Regions from separate parts of the Homo sapiens genome. Here regions 1, 3, 4 and 5 are each linked to region 2. Evidence: promoter capture Hi-C in 16 types of primary human blood cells and fetal thymus (Javierre and others, 2016). All regions are on one chromosome and are shown on one strand. The core of a region is centred on a gene start or on the middle of the fragment in contact, and the rest is flanking DNA. Distances in the headings are between cores, read along the strand shown.

Evidence for each region. The method cuts DNA at HindIII sites, captures the fragments that hold promoters and counts their contacts. A CHiCAGO score of 5 or more calls a contact.
Region 1: a contact is called between a fragment that was not itself captured here and the fragment with the promoter of SPATS2L in region 2, in 1 of 17 cell types (M1 macrophages). The highest score is 5.6, in M1 macrophages.
Region 3: a fragment that was not itself captured here is called in contact with the fragment with the promoter of SPATS2L in region 2 in 4 of 17 cell types (M1 macrophages, M2 macrophages, naive CD4 T cells and 1 more); the score reaches 9.0 in M1 macrophages.
Region 4: a fragment that was not itself captured here is called in contact with the fragment with the promoter of SPATS2L in region 2 in 2 of 17 cell types (M1 macrophages and erythroblasts); the score reaches 6.8 in M1 macrophages.
Region 5: a contact is called between a fragment that was not itself captured here and the fragment with the promoter of SPATS2L in region 2, in 1 of 17 cell types (M1 macrophages). The highest score is 5.3, in M1 macrophages.

Annotation. Positions count from the first base shown.
Region 1 is chr2:199,930,578-199,933,277 of GRCh38, reverse strand. TYW5 (tRNA-yW synthesizing protein 5) reads left to right here. Exons shown (of 8, transcript NM_001039693.3): 8 at 1-2,700. The coding sequence ends at 211. Among named protein-coding and RNA genes, the nearest start is that of C2orf69, 21 kb to the right of the region's middle. The HindIII fragment of the contact is 1,298 bases long and covers 726-2,023 here.
Region 2 is chr2:200,305,251-200,307,950 of GRCh38, reverse strand. It overlaps SPATS2L (spermatogenesis associated serine rich 2 like), which reads right to left and starts at 1,258. Exons shown (of 13, transcript NM_001100423.2): 1 at 1,029-1,258. RefSeq lists silencers at 294-623, 644-1,373 and an enhancer at 1,784-1,883. The HindIII fragment of the contact is 4,184 bases long and covers 1-2,700 here.
Region 3 is chr2:200,020,771-200,023,470 of GRCh38, reverse strand. All of the region lies in intron 1 of LOC124906112 (a long non-coding RNA gene), which reads left to right. Among named protein-coding and RNA genes, the nearest start is that of MAIP1, 67 kb to the right of the region's middle. The HindIII fragment of the contact is 2,955 bases long and covers 1-2,700 here.
Region 4 is chr2:200,037,529-200,040,228 of GRCh38, reverse strand. All of the region lies in intron 1 of LOC124906112 (a long non-coding RNA gene), which reads left to right. Among named protein-coding and RNA genes, the nearest start is that of MAIP1, 83 kb to the right of the region's middle. The HindIII fragment of the contact is 169 bases long and covers 1,177-1,345 here.
Region 5 is chr2:199,913,460-199,916,159 of GRCh38, reverse strand. The region is part of intron 1 of C2orf69 (chromosome 2 open reading frame 69); the gene reads right to left. Among named protein-coding and RNA genes, the nearest start is that of C2orf69, 3.5 kb to the right of the region's middle. The HindIII fragment of the contact is 236 bases long and covers 1,176-1,411 here.

The DNA of each region.
Region 1 (2,700 bases), core at 125-2,624, 370 kb after region 2:
GAATATCTTTTGGAAGCACCTTCCATCTGAATGCTATGATAAAACAGATACCTATGGAAACAAAGATCCTACAGCAGCATCAAGAGCTGCACAAATTCTGGACAGAGCCTTGAAAACACTGGCCGAGTTACCAGAGGAATATAGGGACTTCTATGCACGACGAATGGTCCTACACATTCAAGACAAAGCCTACAGCAAGAACTCTGAGTAAATAATGAAGTGAATGCAATGCACATTAACACTTTAGTAAGGTATAACGATATAAATTAAAGATTTTGTTAAAATAGGAAAGATACATCAGATTTACAGATTATGTAAGTACGAAGGGGTGTTTGTGTGGATTCTACTTGATACAGATTGTTATAATTAAAGAATGCTGTGCTGGGACCACTCTTTAACATTCAGATGCTGACCACTAAAAGTCCAACTTAAAATGACTTAAAAACAGTAAGAAAATATATTGATTCACAATACATGAAATCTATTGACAGAATGTGCTGCAGTGTTTCTGATCCAATGATTCAGTAATGTCATCAAGAACCTTGGGAACCCGCCTCCACACCCCACCCCCTTTTCAACCACAACATTGGCATCATCCTAAGGCTGGCTACCCTCGTGGTCATGGGATGATTGCCAGTAGCAGTTGGAGCCTTGTGCATCTTCATTTACATGCAGCGGAAGAGTCAGGCTGGATTCTAGGGGCCCTGTCCTAGTATGAGAAAGCTTTCCCAGAATTCACTTTCCATATCCTTAGGTCTCATTGCTCTAAAGTAACTTAGACCTGTCCATCCCTGAGCCAGTCACTGGCAAAGGGTCTAGAATAACCTTTAGGGCAGTCAGGTCCACTGGAGCTGAGAGTAGAAGTGGAGGCCACATGAGGGATATATGGGGACAGAAAGGATAGTTTTTTTAAAATCATGGTTCTGATAGGAAAAACATGAGCAACGCACAATATCTATTACATTTGCCTAGAAGCAGAATTTTTTGAGGAACTTTAAAAAATGTACAGATACCTAGGTCCCAACTTTGTAGACTGATTCAAGAGTGTTTGGGATTTGGTATAGGAACTTAATAGACCTCACAGGGTGTTCTGATGCATAATCAGAGCTGAGATCAACTGGAGTTGATGATAGTGACTTGGATTATTAGTTTTGTGATTAGTGCAAAACAAATGTTTAATCTGATCTTGACTTTTCTTGCCACCCAGTATGTCAGGGTGGTTTTTGGTTTTTGAATGTTACAAAATAAATAATTTATACCTATGTCTAAACCTTAGCCTAGTTAAAGATTTCCCAACTATTTTTTCCACCTATCCCTTTTTTAAAAGAAAAATTACTTAAAGAATGAATAAATGAGATCCTAAAAGTGTTGTCATCGAAGACAGTGAGCCATTGTGTGTGGATCTCTGCTTTTGTTTTGTACCTAGTAATTATATTGCAGTGTCATTGAAGACCACATAATCTTCACTGAACATAAATGTGTTCATCTAAAGCAATCTCTTAGTACATCAATTTGGTGCATTTTAATTAGAGAAAATCATTTTCTCTATTGAAGAGAATCCATCCACTCATGTCCTATAAATTATAGTAAATAAGGAAAAGCATATATAACATTCTGAATTTCCTAGGTGTCTTTGGAAACAGGTAAGTTACTCAGGTGAATAAAGGTGAAAAAAGTCTTGTCAGAAAAGGAATGATTATATTAGCCAAATTTAATTACCAGGTTTTGATCTTCATTAAGCAAAGCAAAGAACTTCTTTACTGATTCCTTGTCCTTCAGTAAGGAAAAAGACAAAACTCTCCTTAGTTTACACATTATTTATGGTCAGTTTTTAATAAATCTTGTTTTTTTTCTTAACCAGCAAGAGAATTGATACAAAGTATAAATCCAGAGTCATGTAGAAAACTTGGAAGTATTAATAAAACAGATTACAGTTTGTGCACTGAATAGTCATCTTAATTGATTGTTTAATGGAGAAGCAAACTGGATGACCTTAGACAAAATAACATTTATCTATGAAGCTTATTTTCCTCATCTTTAAAACAGAACTACAAAAATGCAGAGAGTTCAAGGGCAGGCACATAGTTGATAACTGGTGCTAGTTCTTCTATTTAATTATATTCCATCTTTGTTGAGAGATTTGAGGTAGCTCCTGTTGCAGTATTAATTTATAATATTTTAAAAGTTAGAGAACTTTCCTTTGGGATGTTTTAAAATTATTTCCCTGGTCATAATTAATATTAGGGTCTGTTTATTTCAAATACAAAATATTTTAATCTTTTCTTCCTACTGGGTTAAGACCAAATGAGATGTTTGTTTTTAATGTATAAAATCTTATACAGTGTATGTTAGCTGCAACTTCTCAGGAATTCTGAATCTTAGAACTTTTTTATTGAAAGAGATCTTAGAAGCCATCTAACCAACCCAGATTGCTTAATGATTGTCTGGGTTCACATAGCTATGGGTGATAGAAACCGGGATTCGTTGTGACCAGTAATTCTCCATTCTCCCTAATGTGCAGCACATCTCCAGTACTTCTGAATAGATTACACAGCTTTTCTTTGGCTAGTTTGGGGGCTTGACCTGATGCAAAAAGGAATTTTTTTCCTCTGCCAACAAAATTTCTCACTGCACTGCTTGCTACACAGACAAGATTCAAAATAAAAGTAATGGTGGGTCAGGTGCCATGGCTCATGCCTG
Region 2 (2,700 bases), core at 9-2,508:
GTGTTTGAAGTTCAAGGGTTTTCACTAGTTCTCAAGCTACAAACCCTGTAATATAGCCAAAAGAAAACGTACAGAAAGAATCTTTCACGAAAAGTGTCAGGTCTCCAAAACCCCGACATCTGCTAAAACCAGGATTGCGGGGGGGATGAGAAGCTCGTGAAGTTCAAAAACACACCAACCCCGCGGGAACACGAAACCTCCACTCGCGAAGACGCGACGCTTCCGCCGCATCCCCGCGCAGGTGAAGACTCGGCCCTTCAGCCCCGCGTGTGCGGCAGCATGATATTCAGAGTGCGCCGGCGTCCAGCGCGAGCGCATCCTACGACAACCCCGTCTCCCGCTGGGGTCCGCAGCCCGCGGACTCCGGGGTCCCCCCGCCCAAATGCGGCGGCGCGACCGCTTCGTCCCGCGGCCAGGGCGCTCCGCGTCTGCTCCGGCCACCCCAGCCCACCCGCGCAGCGCGGACGCCAACGCATCCCACTCCCGCTGGGCGCCAGGGGCGCGGGGTTCAGTGGGGCCGCGGCCCCCGCACCCGGCTGGGATCCGAGGGCGGGGTGGTCGCGGCTGACGTGGGCTTTGCGGCTCCGGGCCAGAGAGCAGCCTGGGGGACGGTGGGTCTCTTTCCGGCTTGGGAGGGAACGGGGGCGCCCGCGCGGGAGGACGGCAGGCGAGGGACGGCGGCCGCGGGCGATTCAGATCCGGGGCGGGCGGGTACACGTCGGAGCGCGGCGGCCACACGCTCGCCCGGGGAGCGCCACTGTGCGTCCCAGCCGGCGCCTCCTCCCGCTTGCCCGCGCCGGCTGGAGAAAGGAAGGACGGCGACCTTCGCGTCCGGTCCGCGCCACCAGCCCGCCTCGGCGCCGAGCGCGGGCCACACCCAGCGCTCCGGGAGGCGGCGGAGGCTGGGCGGCCCGGGCTGCGGAATGCTCGGCCCAGCCGAGTCTCCGTCCCGGCCGCGCAGGCCCCTCCGCGTCCGCCCGCGCCCTGCATCCCCAGCCGGCCCGGCGTGGAGGGGGTCCTGGGCTTACCTCTGTGTCGAGCGCCGGCTCCTCCGTCCCGGGCCGGAGCCGGGGCCCGGGGGCGCGGTCGCCAGGGGAGGCGCCGCGGCGGTGGCGGCCCCTGCGGCTCGGAGGGCGGGCCGAGCGGGAGCCGCTGCCTGGGCCGCGCGCCGTCCGGAGCTCGCCCCGCGCTGCCGGCGCTTGCAGCGGAGGGCGCAGCCAGCTCGGCCCCCGGACTGGATTCCTTCACTGACACAACTCCGGCTCGGCCGCCCCACGCAGGGACACTCCCGCCCCTCGCAGGCTGCCCCCGCCCGCCGACCCGCCCGCCTTCCCCTCGGTGTCACTCACCAGGAGCACACACCCCAGCCGGCGCCCCTCGCTCCCGCTCGCAAACACAGCGCTGCTCACGCCTCTCTCGGGTTTTGTATCCGCTCACACGCACGTTCTGACACAGATCTCGTCCCTCCACACGCCCTCCCTAGCTCCTTTCCCACCCCACTTTCTAGAAGAATCCCAGTACAGCTTCCGCACTTTGCTTGCTTGCTCCAGACCGACTTCCTCGCCTTTCCCCAAACCTCCACTTCACCGAAACTCCCCTTGTTAATGAAAGATTTTGTCACAATCCGCACGTGTTGCAAGAGAATCATCTTCTCCTACCCGAGAAAATGAACTTTGCTCCCTCAGCACTGTCTGCAAATACGAGATGTTTTTCCTTTTAGAAGGTAGTAATGCTTTCTGGAGAGGATCCAAGCTCAAAATGTAAGCAAAGATAGCCCATTCGAAAATGACCTGAAAAATCAGGCGCGGAAAAAGTGCTGGAGCTCGGGTCAGCCCTTGGAAACCCGACCAACCCGGGGTGTTCCGCCGCCTCCTCTGCGCTGCGGGTCTGCACACTGGGCTCCAAACGTGTGTGTAATAACCAAGTTACACATGGGCATCGTGGGCTTCAGCCGTGGGTTTCTGCCTGGGAGTACAGTAGTCGGGAGAGTAAAAGCAGTTTCTCAATCATTATTCATGATGGAAGCACTTTAGATAACACTCTTCTTCCAGAGGCAGTAGAGTGAAATGCAGGCAGCTCTCCAATTCAGGTTTTTATTTATTTATTTATTTATTTATTTATTTAGAAGGGTGACTTCTTAGCTTCCTTTTTTTTTTTTTTTTTTGGCAATACCAATAACTGTTTCTGAGTGGCTCCTTGGCTGTCAAGCTCCTTACAAATATCAGACCAGAGTTTGTTATGCTTCTCGAGCTCCAGACTCTAATGGGCCTCCGAGGGCACTGCAGAATCGTACATAATCCGATGTTCAGGAATTCATAATTTGAAATAAAATACAAACACCTTTCGGATAAAGTTCAAATCTGCTAACATAATGTGGCCCTGTTGACAACGCACTGCTGAAATAAAGAGAGGAGCTAAAACGAAAGGAATTCATTTTCTTATGTGACTTGGAGTGGTTCTTGCTACCTTATAGTCGCCTTGGATTGGTGTGTGGATAATATAATTTATTTAACAGACATTAGCAAGTGCTTTATAAGTACTAGCTCATTTAATCCTTGGAAGAACCCCATCAGGTAGGTACTACTTTTGTCCTGTTTTACAGATAAACTGAGGGCTGGGCCCAGTGGCTCACACCTGTAATCCCAACACTTTCGGAGACCGAGGTGGGCAAATCTCTTGAGCCCTGGAGATCAAGACCAG
Region 3 (2,700 bases), core at 162-2,661, 280 kb after region 2:
CTTTTCCACACTAGCAGAGTAGGGAGGGGAACTTGTGTTAGGCCATCTGAGGCCTGTCCTGTTTTCTTCAGATGTCAAAGCAAGCATGCTATGGGACTTTAGTTCTAGTCCTTGTACCATTGTAGTACATGTCACTAAAGGATCAAACAAAAATAGAGAAGGAACTCAACAAGTTTTGATTTGTATGTGCCCCGTTCCTCCTTCAACATACATGCTCTAGAGGTAAAGAAACATGCGAGTCCCTCCCCTTTTACGTTCCTTCATGAAGCCTTGGATAATACCGAGTCCTTTTTGATGGAATACCACAATAACCAGTGACTTAATAAATGTTATTGTTTGAGGAAGCCAATCTTTATTTGAGTAGCTATTGCCAGCCAAATTCTTTATTAATTTATCAAATATTTATAGAAAATCTAAACAGACCATTTGTATAGGAGCTGTATCTGTCAGAGTTCTTTGGTTGCAGGCCACAGAAACTGAGTCTGGTTGACTTTAACAAAAAAAGGGAACTTACTGGACTGGATTTCAGTAGCTCAGAAAACTGGATTAAAAAAAAGAATTTAAAGAACCCAGGTTCAGAAAGGACAATAATCAGGACAGCTCTGATTAGGATCTTGGTAGCAGAAACTGATGAATACTCTATTGAGGGCAGCATGGGAGAAATGAATTAACTCTAATCCTTCCGTTAGTTGGCCTAGCATTCAAACTGCAGGAGGAGTCTGACTGGCATGGCTGGAGTCTTGGCCCAGGGAAGGAGGACATGTTGATCGAAAATACAACCAAATCTGCAATAGACAGCAGATGGTTGCTCAAAGGAAAACCAAATGACTATTTACCCAAAGAAAGAGGAAGGGATTCTAGGCAGGCAAAAACAAAAACAAAAACAGGCATACATTTCTAGAGCTATGTCATTATCTTATATGAATTGGAAAATCAATGATTATTAAACAAAACAGGTAAATCATATCTTAACCCACTTTCTTGGTTGTGCTTTCTACAGTGTGTATTTGTGTACTTTTTTACTTGTTTCATTAAAATAAAACATGTTCAGTGCCTTAATACCTGGTTGTAAGGTAGATTTGTTGTGGATTTAACCCTCAGACAGGCCAATCTGCCTTTAAGCCTTAGCTCTTACTCCAACCACGTATCTTACAAAAATAGATCTTTTTTCACAAAGAAGAAGTAGAGATATGAATGGATCAGCAAAAAATATTTTAAGTGATTTTAAAATTATTTAATGAAAGCATTTTATGTAGGCACTGCCCTGCTAGACTCATGGGCAGCAAAAAGATAGATGCACACCACAAAAAGTACTTCCCACACCTAAGTTTATAATGAACATGTGCACACGCAAGCAATTAAATGACAGTTCAATAAGAAATATGTAACCCAGATGTCAGGGGAAACTCTACATTCTTTTCCTTCCCAATATTTACGTCCTGAAGAGTCCCAGAAGTTCCCATACTCAATGTCATTTTTGAATCTTAGTTTCTGTTACCCCTGAAATCTTATTTTCACTTTTATTTTTGCCCCACAATTGTTGCCTTTTCTGTGTTCCATACGAAACCAGAAATACCCCCACTAAAAAAAAGGGGCGTGTTGAGTACAGCAAACTCCACTCAAACATTGGTGAGAAGAAGGGGACCCACATCAAAGAAGAGCTAATAGGTAAAAAGTGTTTGATTTCTATATTTTTAAAAGTCTTTTAACTATTTCCAACAATTCAGGCCACAGCATTCTGTCATGTATTTCAGCCCTCTACTTTTTTCACTGCTTATCAGTAATCTACCCCATGTTACTATGCAAAGCAATCTAGGTTTCGTCAATGCAGCTGCAGCACTCCCTTGGTAGAACCAAACACTCACTAGCTGTTGGACAATTGATCACCTACTTCCTCATCAGTCTCTACAAGAGAACTGGATCAGATTTTTTCCCAGGGGTATGAATCCTGCCACCCATCCTTAGGGGCGTCAAGGGGGGCAGAAATGGCTATAGTTAACCTACATTTTAAATAAGAGTTTGCCCTCTGTCACGACTGCTCTGAGTGGGCCCATGAGGGAGGGAAGGTTGTGGGTCTTAACAGTGTGGAAGAGATTTTAGGGAAGGACTCTAACTTGAACTCATGACTGTGACTTAAAAATGCAGGGATCAAATTTAAACTGAAAACTTCAGACTAAAATTTTGTAACCAAATATATACATATTGGTGTGTGTGTATATACACACACACACACACACACACATATATATATACACACACACACATATATATTTCTCTCACTTTCTTTTCCAAATCCCGTCAAAATATCATAAGTAATATCAAAATAAGAACAAACCTATTGCATTACTGAAAACCAAGAGGGCATCTTCAAGCAAGTAAAAAATTTCTGGAATATATAAAGCAAATGACATATTTCCCCGAAGCTGAAGAATCTGCAACCCATGTAGTTGAACAGAAAAAAAGAAAAAAAAAAGAGAGAGAGAGAAAATAAAAGATTAAAAGGAAGAAAAGAAGGAAGGAAGAAAGTTAGTTTTCCAGACGAACTTTGAAATCCTAAAACCAACAATAGTTGGAATTAAAAGGAGCTGGAAATGGGGTGACAGGCTGGGTGAATAATTAAAGACCTGTGGAACAGCTGCACGAGTCCCCTGCTCTCAGAATTGCTGGTTCTGTTGTTTGCCTGCAGGATACAATTTTCCA
Region 4 (2,700 bases), core at 12-2,511, 270 kb after region 2:
TTTATATTCTCACTTTCTGGCTTCCCCTAAAGTGCTGGGGTTGCAAGAATGAGGAACATTTCAGAATGGTTATCATTATGCTATCTTTAAAAGTAACAAGCTCCTGGTTTTAATTAATCTTGGTCCCTGACTTTTTCATGAAAAGAAAAGTCAGTGAGCTCATGCTGTGGTGTCTCTTTCCAGAGCTGATGTGGTTAGTCGTTCTCGTGTGAAACTGCCAAAGGCAGACTGGGTTACTGTCCTATGGAACATCTGCACAGTGTTTATCATTTTGGCATTTGAGAACTATGTAAATACGTGCAGACCCGTGACAACCTCAGGATTTTGTTTCCAAATGCGCCATCAATGAATAACGGCCCAAATGAGCAAAATCATCTGGGCAACAATTTGGGTGGAGAGTAAGGCTGGGAATTGCAATGTGCTTCCAAGTGCTCTGGGGGTAAAAATCTTTTCCTATCATTGCATAACAATAAAGTCTTTGGGAGCACAATAATGTGTAGAATGGCTTTAGAATCAGACAACTTGCATTTGTTCTGGAAGCACATATTTAAATCTGGCCTAGGATCATTACTGACAGAAGCAACTTTCTTGATTAAGTCAGTCCCATGAAGGAACAAACATCTTTATTACAGAGAGCACCTTCTCCTACTAATTTTCACCTTAGCAGCAAAGGCCAAATTCCCTCAGCTGAGCCACAGCTCTCAACTCAGAACTCAGTGCCTCCATCTCACCTGCTGGTAATTGAAGATAAATTCAACTTGTGCTGCCTCTGTTAGTGCCCGAGTGGTTCTCTCCTTTCACATAACTCAATCATTTGTCTTCAACTGGTATCTTAGAGATGTGCAAAGGCACTAAGGCAATTATTTTTGACTGTCTCCTAGAACTCAAGAAACTCCTTTGTAGAAGGCTGAAACCATGCCTGGTCATTTAGTCTGCCTAGACTTAAAAAGACATCAAATACAAATAAATTCTGGGAAATAAATCAACTTTAGGCCTTTTTTTTACTGCTGAAGGCTTAAATTAATTCCCAAAAAGGCTAATTACGTCTTTCTTTGCTCAGTAGTTGGGCTTAATAATAAGCACCAAACATATGGCAGAGATTGGGCTGCAGAATCCATCATGGCCTTCTGTTCAGCAGCAAGGGGAGGTCTTAAAGGAAATTACATACAGAAAGCTTGTACGTGTTAAACATTGTAGTACCCATTATTGCTGGAAACAATAACTGCTAACCTGGCTTCTAAATTTCTTTCAATTCACTAGTAATCAAAGAAGTGTAATGTGAAATATAAGTTGAGCATCCCTAATCTGAAAATCCACAATTCTGTATGCTCCAAAATCGAAAGCTTTTTGAGTGCTGGCAGGACACCACAAGTGGAAAATTTCACACTTGACCTCATGTGGTGGGTCCCAGAAAACACTGTCAAAAGTTCGTTTCATGCACAAAATTATTTAAAATATTGTACAAAACTATGCTCAGGCTCTGTGTACAAGGTGTATATGAAACACAAATGAATTTCATGTGTAGACTTGGGTTCCGTCCCCAAGATATCTCATTATGTATTTGTAAATATTCCAAAATCCAAAACAATCCAAAATCCAGAATATTTCCGGTCCCAAGCATTTCAGATAAAAGATACTCAACCTGTACACTAATAATCTATTTTTATTTTTTGTTGTTTTGTTGTGTTTTTTGAGACTGGGTCTTGCTCTTTTGTCCAGGCTGGAGTGCAGTGGTGTGATCATAGCTCACTGTAGCCTTGAAATCTTGGGCTCAAGCGAGTCCCCCACCTCAGCCTCCCATGTAGCTAGGACTACAGGCACACACCACCATGCCTAGCTAATAATAATAATAATAATAATAATAACACTTTTGTAGAGATGAGGTCTCCCTATGTTGCTATGTTGCCCAGGCTGTTTTGAACTCCTGGCCTCAAGTGATCCTCCTGACTTGGTCTCCCAAAAGACAGGGATTATAGGCAGGACTGACCTCTGAACCCAGGCACTAAGGCTCCCAAGCACACCCACCCATTTCCAGCCTCTATTTTTCAACTATCAGATTAATAGTGATTTTTAAATAATGATAATACTGGGGATAATTTGATAAAATAAGTATATTTATACCTTATGTTGAGAGTCTAAATTTGGACAATCTTTCTGAACAGCAATTTTAAAACGAAAGGTAAAAAGGTTACAAGTATTTACTCAGATGTTTTGATCCAGTCACTTTATTCCTAGAAATCTCTCTGAAGGAAATAGTATAAACCATAGACAGAATGTTAATTGTAACATTGTTTATAACACCAAAATATGCAACGAGAGAATGATTTTTAAACTATATACATCTACCATATTCTATGGCACATTATGCAGCCATTAAAAATTATGTTGACAAATATTTTCAAAGGCAGAGGGGAAGTGAAAATAGGATACAGAACAATGGATACACCATGACTTTGACTGTGTAAAATAATATATCACACACATATTGGAGATAAAAACATATTACTTTTAAAACTGCAGCAGTCAACCAGGTGTGGTGGCTCACGCCTGTAATACCAGCACTTTTGAAGGCCGAGGCCGGAGAATTGCTTGAGCCCAGGAGTTTGAGACCAACCTGAGCAACATAGCGAGACCCCTTTTCTACAAAAATATTTAAAAATTAGCCAAGTGTGGAAGCATGTGCTTGTGGTCACAGCTACT
Region 5 (2,700 bases), core at 44-2,543, 390 kb after region 2:
GACACATTTGCTTCCCCTTCTGCCATGATTGTAAGTCTCCTGAGGCCTCCCAGCCCTGTGGAACTGATTCAATTAGACCTCTTTCCTTTATAAATTACCCAGCCTCGGGTATGTCTTTATTAGCAGTGTGAGAATGGACTAATATATATGGCCTTAGCTTTCTTGTAATTCAAATGATAAAGGAAAAGTACAGAATTTTTAAAAAGGACATACAACAAAACATGACTGCAAAAGGAACATCAAGAAGTTAATAGGAATTAAGAGGACTTAAAATCATATGAAAAACCAGTTCCAATTAACAAACACCAAATAATGAAACAGTATCAAGATAGGTGAAGCTTCAGGCCAGGTGCGGTGGCTCACATCTATAATCCCAGCACTTTGGGAGGCTGAGGTGGGAGGATCACCTGAGGTCAGGAGTTTGAGACCAGCCTGGTCAACATGGTGAAACCCCATCTCTACTAAAAATACAAAAAAAAAGAAAAATTAGCCAGGCGTGGTGGCATGCTCCTGTAGTCCCAGCTACTCAGGAGGCTGAGGCAGGAGAATCGCTTGAGCCTGGGAGGTGGAGGTTGCAGTAAGCCAAGATCACGCCACTGCACTCCAGCCTGGGCAACAGAGCAAGACTCCATCTCAAGGAAAAAAAAAAAAAGATAGGCAAAGCTTCTAATACTATCTTACAAAATTCTGTTTAGCCCTATTCTGTTCAATATTTCTTCAAATTAAGAATAAAGCTATAACAAGAATGCTCAGCGAGGTGTGGTGGCTCATGCTTGTAATCCCAACACTTTAAAAGGCTGAGGCAGGAGGATCACTTGAACACAGGAGTGGGCAACATAGTGAGACCCTGTCTCTCTAAAAAATAGTAATAAAAGAAAATAAAGAAAATAGAATGTCTATAGGCATTCTAAAAGCATCAACACAATAAAAAGATGGGCTGTACTCAGCAGCGAAAAGTTCATAAGGATAGATATTAGGCTCAAAAGAATCAAGTACAAAAATACAGATGAAGAAATCAGCCTAACAGCATTTTATATAATAGCCAACACATTTCAAGTATTTCATGCATTGTTCAAAGCAATTAAAAAATACTCATTTATACAAGTCATCTACTGCACACCTAAAACATGCAACTCTCAAGCATCGCAGATTATATCGGTGAACAAACGTAAGCTTATATTTTAGTGGCAGAAGGCAAACAAAACTCAAAACGAAAACTAGTATAGTAAATGCAATGGGTAATAATAAAGAAGAAAAGTTGATAGGAAGCCTATATATACTATGATTATTAAACAGGATGGTCAGAAAAGGCCTCAGAGAGGCAGAGTCTTGAGCAGACCTGGAAGAGGTGAGGTAATAAACCTACAAGTCATCTACTTGGAAGGCTGTTCCAGGCAGTATACAGAAAGCTTTTTAGGTATAGTGTGCCTGACATGTTTGAGCAACACCAAGAAAGCCAGAGAGGCTGGAGAAGAGTAAACAGAAAAAGGAGACCAAGTCAGATAGGTAACAGGGTGGGAAAAGATAGAAATAATGAAAAGCCTTGCAGGACAGGATATTAACAGGAAGGACTCTGGCTCTTACTCTGAGTGACATGGGAAGTGACTGCACAGTTTTGAGCAGACGTGGAATGATTTGACTTACATTTTTCAATGGTTATTCTGATTACTTTAGATACACTGAAAAGGTAAAACCACTAGATTTGATGAAATGAGGTATGAAAGACAGTTCTAATGGATGACTTCAAGATTTCTATCTTGAGCAACTAAGAAGGTAAAGTTTCCATTAATGACATGAGGAAGACTGCATAGGGGTAAAGATCCAGAGATTTTAGGTTTAGGATATCTATTAAATATCCAAAAGGAAATAATCGTGCATATAATTGGTTGGCCTAAAGTTTGGGGAATATGTGTAGGCTAGATACATAAATGTTGAGGGGTGTCAGTGTACAGGTAGTGAGTAAAGCCATGAGACTGAAGGGAGTGAACACAGACAGAGGAAACATGGAAGAACAGACGACTAGGATACTCCAATAATTTTTAAAGTCACCAGAGAGATAAGAAGGGACCAGAACTCATTTAGTATCCACACATTTAATCTCCATTGACACCTTATAAACTATTATTCTTATTTTGTAGTTGAAGTAGCTGAAACACAGAGAGATGTAACAATTGTCCAGGGACTTTATACCTAAAAAGTTCTAAATCAGGGTTCAAACCCAGGCAATCTGGCCTCAAACTGTATGTAAGACTTTTTAGACTTCCTCTGAAGACTTGTACTATATATCCTGGCTGGCACACTTTAAAAACACTTAGGAGGTGCTCAATAAATGTAATCATTATCATCATCATTATTTTAGGAATGCATGCAGTAATTGTTCCACAAAATTATTCTGGCAGTCATAGTCGGAAATGTCACATGTTATTTTCCCAATCTGAGCCACAAGGGCACCAAGTAAGTAAGTGGCTTTTTTTTCTCTTAAATCTAAGTAGTAGTTGTTTTTTTCTTTATTCTCTTTTTTTTTCTCCAGTTTTTATTAGCAGTCAACTAAACCAGTCAATTATTTTGAGGGCAAAAGAAAATAATACATATTATAAAAATATATATATATTTTATATATATTATATAGTATATTTTATATATAGTATAATATATATTTTATATAATATAATATATATTTTATATAATATATATTTTATA